Regions from separate parts of the Homo sapiens genome. Here all the other regions are linked to region 1. The links are contacts of gene promoters, found by promoter capture Hi-C in blood cells and fetal thymus (Javierre and others, 2016). All regions are on one chromosome and are shown on one strand. The core of a region is centred on a gene start or on the middle of the fragment in contact, and the rest is flanking DNA. Distances in the headings are between cores, read along the strand shown. Region 1 holds the start of PTK7 (protein tyrosine kinase 7 (inactive)). Region 2 overlaps UBR2 (ubiquitin protein ligase E3 component n-recognin 2). Region 3 holds the start of PRPH2 (peripherin 2).

The links. Contacts are between HindIII fragments. The CHiCAGO score rates a contact against its expected background, and 5 or more counts as called.
Region 2: a contact is called between a fragment that was not itself captured here and the fragment with the promoter of PTK7 in region 1, in 1 of 17 cell types (naive CD4 T cells). The highest score is 5.8, in naive CD4 T cells.
Region 3: a contact is called between the fragment with the promoter of PRPH2 here and the fragment with the promoter of PTK7 in region 1, in 1 of 17 cell types (neutrophils). The highest score is 6.9, in neutrophils.

The regions. Positions count from the first base shown.
Region 1 is chr6:43,074,574-43,078,839 of GRCh38, reverse strand. It overlaps PTK7 (protein tyrosine kinase 7 (inactive)), which reads right to left and starts at 2,526. Exons shown (of 20, transcript NM_002821.5): 1 at 2,273-2,526. The coding sequence starts at 2,351. It overlaps KLC4 (kinesin light chain 4), which reads right to left. Exons shown (of 16, transcript NM_201521.3): 16 at 3,747-4,218. The coding sequence ends at 4,168. It overlaps KLC4-AS1 (KLC4 antisense RNA 1), which reads left to right and starts at 2,610. Exons shown (of 2, transcript XR_002956347.1): 1 at 2,610-3,145; 2 at 3,573-4,266. RefSeq lists a silencer at 2,439-2,538 and an enhancer at 2,868-3,391. The HindIII fragment of the contact is 8,069 bases long and covers 1-3,288 here.
Region 2 is chr6:42,649,975-42,654,240 of GRCh38, reverse strand. UBR2 (ubiquitin protein ligase E3 component n-recognin 2) reads right to left here. Exons shown (of 47, transcript NM_001363705.2): 23 at 3,855-3,957; 24 at 2,170-2,218; 25 at 1,596-1,750. Among named protein-coding and RNA genes, the nearest start is that of PRPH2, 70 kb to the left of the region's middle. The HindIII fragment of the contact is 871 bases long and covers 2,063-2,933 here.
Region 3 is chr6:42,720,621-42,724,886 of GRCh38, reverse strand. PRPH2 (peripherin 2) reads left to right here and starts at 2,290. Exons shown (of 3, transcript NM_000322.5): 1 at 2,290-3,133. The coding sequence starts at 2,553. The HindIII fragment of the contact is 19,648 bases long and covers 1-4,266 here.

The sequences.
Region 1 (4,266 bases), core at 1,277-3,776:
TGGGAATTGGAATGAGAAGTGACCACAGCTGACTGTACAAGAGGTTGGGGTTAAGAATCCATAGTTTCAAACATCAAGCCTCCTCCTCCTCCACCATATTTATTACAACAGCATCTCAAAGTTTGGAAAGTAACTCTGCCATTTATGGCATAATTACCCAGACTTTAAAATGGTCTAATCCACAAACCTAGCCAGCCTAGGTTCCTTACTCCAGCCTTATTAACAGTGGGATCTCACTACAACTCCAGTTAATTACACAATTAAACAATGAGATGCAAACATCTACTGTGATCTATTAAAAAACCGTTGCCCCTGAAGTCATGCGTCTGGGGGTGGGTTGAGTCCCAGGATTTCACTAGAAGACAGCAGGCGCCTCGGCCTCCACTGAAATTGTTTACAGCACATGGACAGGTTCCACAACAAGGCACATTTGGTGGAATTGATTTAAGGCTCTCATTAAAATGTTCCTTTGTTGAGCACAAGACATCCCCCCACCCCTGAGGAGACTACAGACCTCCTGTCCTAAGCCCTCAGCCTGCCCTAACTTCCCCCAACAGGATCCCCCACACACACGCGCGCACACACACTAAACACCAACCAGTCACCAGATTAAGTCAATTAACATCAGAGTCATCTTCTCATGGAAGGAATTTAGGAATTCAGCATTTGTTGAGCAAGAGCCCCATCTTCACCAGAAACTCCCCTTGACTCTAGTACCCTGAACAGCAGCAGTGAAGGCAGCCTCATTGGGCAGACCCACACACCAAAACCCAACCAGGACAGCCAGGGGGCCTGTGAGCTTGGGCTGCTCGCCCAGATGGCTGGGCCCCCATCCTGGCTGTGCAAAAAAACTTCCATACTTCCTCTGGGAGCAGATGTGGATTCTGCCACGAGCAATAACCACCACACACATCACAAGAAAAACGGGGCAACTCCAGAAACACCTCCTCCAAATCCCTGGAGATTGGTCTCTTTCCTGGGTTACATTTACCTCTCCTTTTACAACTGGGGGCAGGGGAGATGTTGATTCCACCAGCACCAAAACCCCTCCACAGCTGGCAGGCCAGAAAGATATTAGAAAGGCAATTCCTTACCCATGCCCTTCCCATTGCCACCTTCAAAGGAGATGGAAGGTGATCACCTAGGACAGGTCTCCTCGACAGAGCTCCCCAAGAGAAAGCTGCTTCGAGGACCACCAAGGAGTGTTGTGGAGGGTCGGGGGCTTTATTTCCAGTCCGGGCTATTTGGGATGTGCGGGTGGCTTGGTGCTTTCCTGTAAGGCACTTCAACACCTCAGTGATGACTCTTAGGTGTGACCAAGCCAGGAAATAAAAGCTGCGGGAGTTGGGGGGGCGGTGCTGTCTGCCCTGGTGATGAGGGCCACACCCTCGTTAAAATGCTAAGGCCCCCCCCCAAGAAAAGCCAGAATGAGCTCTTTTTGCCTTTCTTCCCTTAGAAATACTTCCTTTCCTCTGTGAGGACAGTCAGGATGGAAATCCAGGAAGGAGCAGAACAAACCCCGTCCGCACCTTTGCAGCCAGGCCATGCCCGATTTTGGCAGCGGCCTTCACACATTAGTCACCGCGACAGCCTGGGACCCTCGGATCCCCGGATTCGGCCCTGGCACGGAGTGGGCGCAGGGTTCCAGACCAGTAGCTAGAGGCCATGGATGGGGGCGGCCCCTAACTCTTCCCTTCTTCCGCCCTCACCCGCAGGGCCATCTGGGGTCTCAGCTTTGCCCAGGAACTCGGAGGAGGGAAGCCGGGAACGTCGGGTCGGCGTAGGTAACAAAGCTCCGCGCTTTGCGCGCCGCAGGTCTGTCCGGCATCGGGCCCCAAACCAGCAACTCTTACCTGGGCCGACCCTGCCGGGTGGGGTGGGGAATTCCTTTTTCTCCATCGCGCTCCCCACGGTGGGTGCGGATGGTCTTTTCTCCCCCGACAAGAAACTCCCCATCTGGGCCCGAGAGCCAGCAACTCTCGGCAGTTCTCGAGCAAACTCTCGGCTCAGACCAGAAAAACTCAGGGAGGCTGGAAATGCGTCCCCGCGGCGCGAGTGGGAGGGGTACCCTGACCGCGTCCCTGGAGGCTTCGCCAGCCTCCCGACACCCGGGCTCCTTGCGCCCTTCCGCCGCAAGCCTGCACCCCCAGCGAGCCTCTCCACTACTCCAGGGCCGTTCCAGCCGCCCAAACCCACCGCCCCGGGCGCAGCCTTTTGCCCACGGGACTCCCGCGCTTCCCAAGCTCTGTGCCCCCAACTCTCGGGTACTCACCGCCCAGCAGCGGCAGCAGCAGGACGCTGAGCAGAGGCAACCGGCGGGGTCTGGCCGGGGATCCCCGCGCAGCTCCCATCGCGGCGGGCTCAGGAAAAGGAGCTGAGGGCGCACGGCGGGCGCGCAGACTGCGCTCCGCGGCGGGCACAGGAGGCGGAGCGCACCGGAGCGCGGGCGCCGCAGCAGCAGCCGCAGCCGGAGCCCGACCCCGAGGCGTCCCGAGGCGTCCCGAGCCGGAGCCGCGCGCGCCCAGTACCTCCGAGTCCCCGCGCGCCGCCGCCGCCGCCGCCAAGCCCCGCCCCACGACGCCCCCTCCCCTCCGGCCCCCGCACGGCGCCCCGCCCCCTCGACGCCCCCTCCTCGCCGAGGCGGGGAGGAGCTCAGTAGGGGGAGGGGTCTGGAGAGGGATGGAGAATAGAGAGAGCAAGGCTCAGGGAAGTGCAGGGGACCTGAGTATTTGCTGTACCCACCACCGACTCTGCAGGGATCCGGGAGAACCTAAGTGACTTGTGCGATTCCGTGGACCCTGGGGAGAATGGTCCATTCTGGGCATACCTGGAGGCTCTGGCCAACAGTTCCCCCAGAATTCTCCAGGTGGGGGCAGGGGAAGAGGCGGGCCCCGCCAACTCTTCAGCAACCCAAAATCTTAACGGCAGACCCAGAACAGCAGGGTGTCCTTAATGTCCCCAAGTAACCTGAAGATGCTGTGTAGCCCGGAGAGGGGCTGAAGTGTGCATGACTGGGGTCTGGTTTGGCTGTAGACCAATCTGAACCCAAAGGTAGAAACACGCTGGGCTCTGAAAGCCAGGCTGAAGTCTGCTAACTGACAAATTCATCCCAAGTCCATCTCCAGGCAGTCTGGGCTGTGTCAGGGTATGGCCAAGTCTCCAGCTGTGGGGAGGCCCAGCACAACCCTTGTTCCAGGCACCCCCACCCCCAGCGCCACCACCCCCACATTCTTTCTTTGTTGTGAAAGCAGCAAGGGGTGTAGGAGGCGGGTCAGGAGGAGTCAAGCTTTAGAAGATGGGCCCCAGCTGCTGCTCAGGCCTCCAAGATATGCTGAGAGGGGATGGATAGTGCCTTGTCTCCCCTCTGGTTCCGGAGGGCCCCCCAGGCCTGTTTAGACCTCCCTTCCCCCAAGCAGCTGGGAGGAGGAATGGCAGCCACAGAGGGCCTCACAGCCAGGAGAAGTGGCGCCAGGACTCCAGGGTCCTGCCACATGGCCACCACATGTCCCTGACAACCCAGTCCACAGCACCTTCTCCTTGGGTTGTGAGCCTCCTTCTTCCCCATCCCCCAGATGCCTTCCTACAGGCCCTGCTGGAGATGATACAAACAACGGGAGGAAGAGAGGAGAGATCCAAGAATCAACACTCCTCCTGCTGCTCCATCCATCACTGCCCCTCACCTTCTGTGAAGGGCCCCAACACAAGCCCTGCTTCATACCCTCTTCAATCAGGACTCAAGTCACAGAAAGGTTACCTGATTCTTTTATTTAAGAAAAGTGAAATACATGGACCTGAAGTGAGACAGCAGAGGGAGGGAGTAAGAGCGGCCAGGGCAAGGCAGCTTGGCTGGCCAGCCCCCAACCCTCTGACTGAAAAGCCAGCAGCAGGCTGCATCTCTGAGGGCCATACCTGCTTTGTACCCACCTTGGGGCCTCAGAGCTAGCTACTCTAGAGGACCACAGGGTGCAGAGAGGGTGTCCTGAGGGTCCTTCCTAAGAGGGATTCCTGAGGAGGGAGCTGAGACCCTAAGGGCAGCAGCAATCTTCTGGTTAAACTGCTCCCCTTCACTGTCCCACCTAGGGGTGGGGAAGAGCCAGGAGCAATGGGGAATGCTGTGAGGGCTGTGGGGGTGGGGGGACCCAGCAGACCTGGGGGCCGGGTTGAATGTCAGCTGCTTGAAGAGAGGTCCATGGTGCTGGCACTGAGGCCCCGGGAGACCTGAAACAGACAACACTACCCCATCAGCTCAGGGACCTCGGCCTCCCA
Region 2 (4,266 bases), core at 1,249-3,748, 420 kb after region 1:
TAGTACAGCTGTACTAGTAGTGAGCTAGTACACCACAGCTCCATGCTTTTACACTTTAAATATGCTTATAGATAAATAGGAGGGCATTATAAGAATACACACATCTTAGCCAGTGAGACAAAAAGAAAGAATGATAGCTACTCAGCCTCCCGAGGAGGGCTCCAAAATTTGAATCTGAATCCTGGTTTTACTGCTTTCAAGCTATTAATATATACCCTAAGGGAACGCCTCTGAGCCCAAGTCATCATCTTTAGCCTTGGAAAAACAAAGCTTCCCTCTAGAGTTCTGAGGATTACAAATACTGTATGCAGAGTGCTTAGCATGGCCAGGCACGGTGGCTCACGCCTTGTAATCCTAGCACTTTGGGAGGCCAAGGTGAGTGGATCACCTGACGCTGGGAGTTCGAGACTAGCCTGGCCAACGTGGTGAAACCCTGTCTCTACTAAAAATACAAAAAATTAGCTGGGCTTCGTGACAGGCACCTGTACTCCCAACTACTTGGGAGGCTGAGGCAGGAGAATTGCTTGAACCCGGGAGGCAGAAGTTGCAGTGAGCCAAGATCACACCATTGTACTCCAGCCTGGGTGACAAGAGCAAAACTGTCTCAAAAAAAAAAAAAAAAAAAAAAAAAAAAGGGCTTAGCATGGAATAAGGCATAAAGTAGGCATTCTATTTAATGAATAATTGTTATATCACTTAGTAGATTAATATGGGAAGTTAATGGAACCTCATTGAAACTTGGCTTCCTCATCTAACAATGAGAAAAAAGTTGTATCTATTCATGGGGTGTTGTGTGAATTCAATGAGATAGTGTACGAACGGCTTACATTAAAACTATAAAGTAAAATACAAACAAGGGGCTGGGCATAGTGGCTCACGCATGTAATCCCAATACTTGGGGAGGCCGAGGGGGGAGGATTGCTTGAGTCTGGGAGTTTGAGACCAGCCTGGGGAACATGGCAAAACTGTTTCTACCAAAAATACAGAAATTACGCAGATGTTGTGATGCATGCCTGTAATCCCAGGTACTTGGGATACTGAGGTGGCGGGATCACTTGAACCCAGGAGGCAGAGGTTGCAGTGAGCCAAGATTGCACCACTGCACTCCAGCTTCCTGGGTGACAAAGCTAGATCCTGTCTCAAAAACACAAAAACAAAAATAACACAAACAAGGTTCCAGACTTGCCACTTAACTAGCTATAGGACCGTAAGTCTATGAGTGTCAGTTTCTTCAACTACAAAATAAGGATATGGATGATTCAAAAAAAATTTTTGTTTTGGAAAATAATTAGATTAGAAACATATATAAAAGATAACACATTATATCAATATCAGAATACTACATATATAAAGACAAGGACCAATCTAGGAGAGAACAACTGCCCAGTGGGACTGAGGTAATAACAACCATGTGGTATAAAAAAATCTGTCTGGCACTTGTTTTTACTGTCAGACACAAAAGCAGTAACAATATATTCAAGTTAGGAAAACACAATACATTTCGGCCTAGTTTTCCTGTGTATAGATACAGACAAGAATATTTTGCTTGTACTATAAAATACTAAAATATAAATAATAAATGTCTTCAAACCTACCCTTTGCAGCATGGACTCTGACCAGGCATATCCATTATGTTCCACAGCCCATTGCAGAATTGTTCCCATGATGCACAACATGACATCTGACTGCAAAATGTTAACCAGGCTTGCAAACAGAGGGCAGAATGGAGGCAACACCGGAGGTGGGAGTGCTGAAAATACAGTTGTTATTATTGGTTTCTTTTACAGAACATGCTTTAGAAACTATCTCTTTGTTACTTTTGATAGTTTTAACTCAAAGAATATTCATTAACACACACCTTAAAGCTATTATTTTACATTCTCAAGGTCAAATGCATAAAAAGAGCCACGAAAGTAGCAGCAGTACAGAAGAAAGTCTATCTTTTCCCCTAGAAAGGTCTTAAGATCTGAGATAACATCAACCCAGAGGACTTAGCACAAACTATTTCTGTGTTAACATATTTATTATTCCTCTGAATAGGAGGTTATTCACTAGGAAAGCTTACATTTAAATATTCATTCCACCAAGGACAATCATCATAGTTAACAGAAAACAATGTTTAACAAGCAAAAAAGATGGGCAAGACATTTTCAGAAAGATTAAAAATACCTGTATCTTCTCTATTTTGTCTTTTCAATTTCCGTTGCGCTTCTTCTGCCTAATAAAAAATAAAGTTATTTGGACCGGGAATTAGTAATGCCCACCACCACACCTGGTTAATTTTTATATTTTTAGTAGAGGTGGGGTTTCACTATGTTGGCCAGGCTGGTCTTGAACTCCTGACCTTGTGATCTGCCCACCTCAACCTCCCAAAGTGCTGGGATTACAGGCATGAGCCAATGTGTCTGGCCAAGGATGAACATCTAAAATCAGAAAATAACACAACAGAGGCCGGGGCGTGGCAGCTCACACCTGTAATCCCAGCACTTTGGGAGGCCAAGACAGGTGGATCACCTGAGGTCAGGAGTTCGAGAGCAGCCTGGCCAACGCGGAGAATCCCCATCTCTACTAAAAATACAAAAATTGGCTGGGCGTGGTGGCACACACCTGTAATCCTAGCTACTCAGAAGGCTGGGGCAGGATAATTGCTTGAACCTGGGAGGCAGGGGCTCTAGTGAGCCGAGGTCTGCACTCCAGCCTGGGTAACAGAGTGAGACCCTATCTCAAAAAAAATAAAAAATAAAAAAGATATCTATCTTTAAGTTCTAGTCCTCCCCCAAACGGATACATCAAGGTTAATTTTTTTTTTTAACTAAAAGAATCTCCAAACGAGTTCTCTATTACTTTAAATTAGAAGGGAAACATGTACTTAAATAAGTACAAACTTATTTAAGTTTGAACTCTATGACTTCATCAAAAACTAAATAAAAGCTTTATGTTTAAGTTTTATTTAATGCTGTTTATTGAAAAACCATTTTAAGAGGAGACTGCTAAAAGGCAGATTTTTTTTTTTTTTTTGAGATACGGTCTCACTCCCATCATCCAAGCTGGAATGCAGTGGTGCAATCATAGCTCACTGCAGTCTTGACCTCCTGGGCTCAAGTGATCCTCCTATCTCAGCCTCCTGAGTAGCTGGGACGAGAAGTGCATGACACCATGCCTGGCTAATTTTTGTATTTTTAGTAGACATGGGATTTCAACATGTTGGCCAGGCTGATCTCGAACTCCTGAGCTCAAGCGATCTGCCCGCCTCAGCCTCCCAAAGTGCTGGGATTACATGCCCCACCAAAAAGGCAAAATTTAATTACCTAGGAATGATTAGAAAAGCTCCATGAATCTCTATGAAAAAGTGTTAAATAATACCAATTCTGAAATGTGCATAAAATGGATTAACTGATTATAATACAGGTTGAAAATTTGTTTTAAAAAACTATACCCATATACGTAAAGGTATGTATTATATAGATCGTATATACATATGTACAAAACGCTAGGGGGTAACTCCAAAATGTTAGGTGAGGGTATTTTAAGTAATTTCTACTTTCTTCTTTATATTTTATATTTTCCAAATCCCCTACAATAAAAATGTATCATTTTTCAATCTGCAAAAGCAGTAAAAAAGTTGTTTAGGAAAAAAAAATTCAAGCCAGATACAGTGGTGCATGCCTGTAATCTCATCTACTCAAGAGGCTGAGGTGGGAGAATTGCTTGAGCCCAGGAGTTTGAGGTTGCAATGCTCTATAATGGCATTGTGAATAGCCACCAAACTCTAGCCTGGGCAACATGGTGAAACCTCATCTCTTAAGAAAAACAATGCAATCCTTCCCTGCTACATTTTTAATTTTCCCAATTACCTTGGACTGTTCTGCCCTTGAAAAGTGATAGAAATACAAGTTGAACTCTTTGGCACATTCTGGTTTCAGTTCATACATGCCTCGTCCTGTTAATCCAGGTTTCCTGTGAAAGAAAGGACCTTAGAATATTATTACCAAAGCCATACACTAATTTATGAGAGATAGTCTTGGATATTAGAACAAGAAAGCAGAGCTCTCATATACTGCTGGTGGGTGTTAAGCTACAACTATTTTCAGTGGGTTGATTTGGCAGTCTAAATCCGAGTTCTACATGCATCTGTTTTATTTAGCATGCCCACTTGGAATTTATCCTAACTAGACAAGTGAACGTGATGGACACTGCAGTGGCAACAATTAAAAAGTCTAATAACGTGAAATAACAAATTACAACATCTCCAAACAACTGAACACC
Region 3 (4,266 bases), core at 1,041-3,540, 350 kb after region 1:
TTGCAAGACAGATTGGCAGTTTCTTACAAAGTTAAACATAGTCTTACTATGTAATCTAGCCATTGTGCTCCTAGATATTTACCCAGATGAATGGAAAATTTTTCAGCAAAAACCTGCACGTGGATGTTTATAGCAGTTTTATTCATAATTGTCAAAAACTGGAATCAACCAGGATATTCTCTGATAGGTGAAGGAATAAACCGTGGTACATCCATGTGATGAAACGTTATTCAGTGATAAGAAGAAATGAGCTATTAAGCCGTGAAAAGATACAGAGAATCATTAATCACATATATTGCTAAGGGAAAGAAGCCAGTCTGAAAAGGCTACATGTTGTATGATTCCAACTGTAAGATATTCTAGATAAGGCAAAACTATAGATCTAGACGGTGGTTGCCCAGGGCTGAGGAGTGAGGGAAGGAGGAATGAATAGGCAGAACATGGCAGGTTATTAGAGTAGTGGAAGTATTCTGTATGATACAATAATGATGAATACATGACATTATGCATTTGGCAAAAGTGACAGAATTATATGCACAAAGACTGAACCTTAATGTAAACTATAGACTTTAGTTAATAATAGTGCATCAATATTGGTTCATTAATTGTAACAAATGTACCACATTAATGCAAGATATTAATTAGAGGAGAAACTGGTTGGGGAGATGGAGAATAATGGGAACTCCCTGTATTTTCTGTTCAATTTTTTTGTAAACCTAAAACTACTGTAAGAAATAATCCATTAATTAATAATAATAATAAATGTACAGATTCACCAAGAGTGTACACTTCTACTTCCACTCTCTTTGTTGATGTATGGTGACAGAATTTTGACATACATTCAATTTGATGGATCGAGTTTGGTCTTTTTCTTTTTTTGAGACGTCATTTCACTCTTGTCACCCAGGCTGGAGTGCAATGGCGCAATCTTGGCTCACTGCAACCTCCACTTCCCGGGTTCAATTGATGCTCCTTCCTCAGCCTCACAAGTAACTGGGATTACAGGTGCCTGTCACCATACCCAGACAATTTTTGTATTTTTAGTAGAGACAGGGTTTCACCATGTTGGCCAGGCTGGTCTTGAATGCCTGACCTCAAGTGATCCACCCACCTTGGCCTTCCAAACTGCTGGGATTACAGGTGTGAACCACTGTGCCCGGCCAAGTTTGGTATTTTATTGTTGTTTGGATTTGCATTTTCCTGCTTATTACCCAAGTTGAGATCTTTTCCAGATTATTGGACTTTTCAAGTTTCCTAATTATGAATTGTCTGTTCCTGGTTTTTGCCTATTTTTCCAGTTGATTATTGGTCTTTTGATTGTGAATTTTTGTTTATTGTGAATTTGTGAGACTTAAAACATTTTTGCATATTAATTCTTTTTTTTTTTTTTCCAGACAGAGTCTCACTGTCACCCAGGCTGGAGTGCAATGTGGGGATCTCAGTTCAGTGCAACCTCCACCTCCTGGGCTCAAGCGATCCACCTGCCTTGGCCTCCCAAAGTACTGGGATTACAGGCATAAGCCACCATGCCTGGCCACTGTATATTACTTTTTAATTTTACAAGTTGCAAATGTTTTCTCACGATCTGTCACTTTCTTTCTTTCCTTCCTTCTTCTCTTCTTTTCTTTGTCTTTTTAAAATTTGAGACAGGGCCTCACTCTGTCACCCAGGCTGGAGTGCAGTGGCACGATCATGGCTCAGTGCAGCCTTGAACTCCCCAGGCTCAGGTGATCTTGCCACCTCAGCCTCCAGAGTAGCTGGGAGAACTACAGGTGCATGCCACCATACCCAGCTAATTTTTTTTTTTTTTTTTTTGTGTGTGTGTGTGTGTGTGTGGAGATGGGGTCTTCCTATGTAGCCCAGGCTGGTCTTGAACTCCTGGGCTCAAGTGATCCACCCAACTTGGTCTCCCAAAGTGCTGGGATTATAGGCGTGATCCACTGTGCCTGGCCCTGTCATTTCTTTTCTCAGAGAGGATAACAATTTATTTGTCCTACAGAAAGTTTTAAATGTTGAAGGAGATTGGCCTGGAAATATGCTTTTGGGGAGCAACACGGTCTGAGCCAGACATCCAGATACAGCCCATTCTTCTGGCCAGTCTTGCCCTTTGCTCCTGATTCTCCAAGCTGTACCCAGAGCTTTCTGGTTCAGCATGTACCTGGAGGCTGCTTTTGACCATGTTTTGAGAGTGGCATGGCTTTATCTAATGGGATGAACCTGGCTAAAGAGATTAGCAAAATGTCTTGTGGATCCCACTTTTAATCTGCAGCGTTCAGGCTGCCCCTTCTTGGCTGGGAAGGGCGCTGAAGAAACAACGCCCAGGACCAGGACTATCCCCTGCTCAAGCTGTGATTCCGAGACCCCTGCCACCACTACTGCATTCACGGGGATCCCAGGCTAGTGGGACTCGACATGGGTAGCCCCCAGGGCAGCTCCCTACAGCTTGGGCCATCTGCACTTTTCCCAAGGCCCTAAGTCTCCGCCTCTGGGCTCGTTAAGGTTTGGGGTGGGAGCTGTGCTGTGGGAAGCAACCCGGACTACACTTGGCAAGCATGGCGCTACTGAAAGTCAAGTTTGACCAGAAGAAGCGGGTCAAGTTGGCCCAAGGGCTCTGGCTCATGAACTGGTTCTCCGTGTTGGCTGGCATCATCATCTTCAGCCTAGGACTGTTCCTGAAGATTGAACTCCGAAAGAGGAGCGATGTGATGAATAATTCTGAGAGCCATTTTGTGCCCAACTCATTGATAGGGATGGGGGTGCTATCCTGTGTCTTCAACTCGCTGGCTGGGAAGATCTGCTACGACGCCCTGGACCCAGCCAAGTATGCCAGATGGAAGCCCTGGCTGAAGCCGTACCTGGCTATCTGTGTTCTCTTCAACATCATCCTCTTCCTTGTGGCTCTCTGCTGCTTTCTGCTTCGGGGCTCGCTGGAGAACACCCTGGGCCAAGGGCTCAAGAACGGCATGAAGTACTACCGGGACACAGACACCCCTGGCAGGTGTTTCATGAAGAAGACCATCGACATGCTGCAGATCGAGTTCAAATGCTGCGGCAACAACGGTTTTCGGGACTGGTTTGAGATTCAGTGGATCAGCAATCGCTACCTGGACTTTTCCTCCAAAGAAGTCAAAGAGTGAGTGGCTTCCAGTCCTGGGGTCAGAGCTATGAATATATTGGGGACACTGAGGCTCAGGCCTCTGACCAGCCCCTCTCCCCGCACCCAGTGCCTTTTCCTCTCCATCGGGTGCACAACTTATTGCTGCGTATGTGAGGGTGTATCAGGTGGAACCATATGAAATTGCTAATATTCTACCTCTTTGACCCATAAAAAATGACAACTTCATAGGGTTCAACCTAACATTGGCTAAGGTGGTAGGAAGGTATCAATTTATATAAGCTGTTTGGATAGGAGCCCCTTGGGATGAAGAGCCAGGCAGCAATGTGTGTCCACTTTATACAGAGGGATGGAAGTCATTCATAGATCACAAACACTGAGGTACTATTTGGCTATTTGTCCCATTCATTCAAAGTAGATGGATTCAGTCCCAGAAGTTTAAATTTCCTAGTTAGTTCCCTTGTTTTCCAACCTTTCAACCCTGAGCATCCATTCCCAAGATGTTTGTCTGGATATGTTGGAAAGAGCATAGGAAGGGGAAGTCATGAGATCTAGGGTGAAGTTTTGGTTCTGTTGTTCAAGGTCTTGTGACCTTGGGCAGGTCACTAGTCACTCTGCGCTTTGGCTTGCCCATCTTTTAAATGAGCACTGGAATAGAATAGGTAATTTTGGAAGTCACCTCCTAGCCCTGCCTGGTAGCTGGCATGCAGCAGGTACTCATTAAATGCTTGCTGGTGTTTACTTAGCGAGTCATGATAGTGCAATGTGATAAAGCATTTCTAAAGTATTCTTGGCATATGTAAAAGTAAAATGCTGCGATGGGCTGTGGGAGGTGCTGGTGAGAGAGAGACTCTCGACCACTGTGTCGGAGGGAACAGCCTGTGCACTGGCTCCAGCGGGCTGCTCTTCCCAACACACCCACCAACCTGGGGCTCGAGTGACTTTTCAGGGAAAGGGCAGCCTGCCTTGAGGCAGCCGCTTTCCCTCACCTCTTCTTTCTGTCTGACTCGACCCTACCTGGCTGAGGTTAGGGGTTCAGTTATTCCTAAGGGTGGTTTTTTTTTCTTCCCAGTGAGGCTGGCAAGTCCAAAGGGAACTTGAACTCAGGGCATTGGCACCAGCAGCAGGACATGTTTGAAGCCCAAAACAAC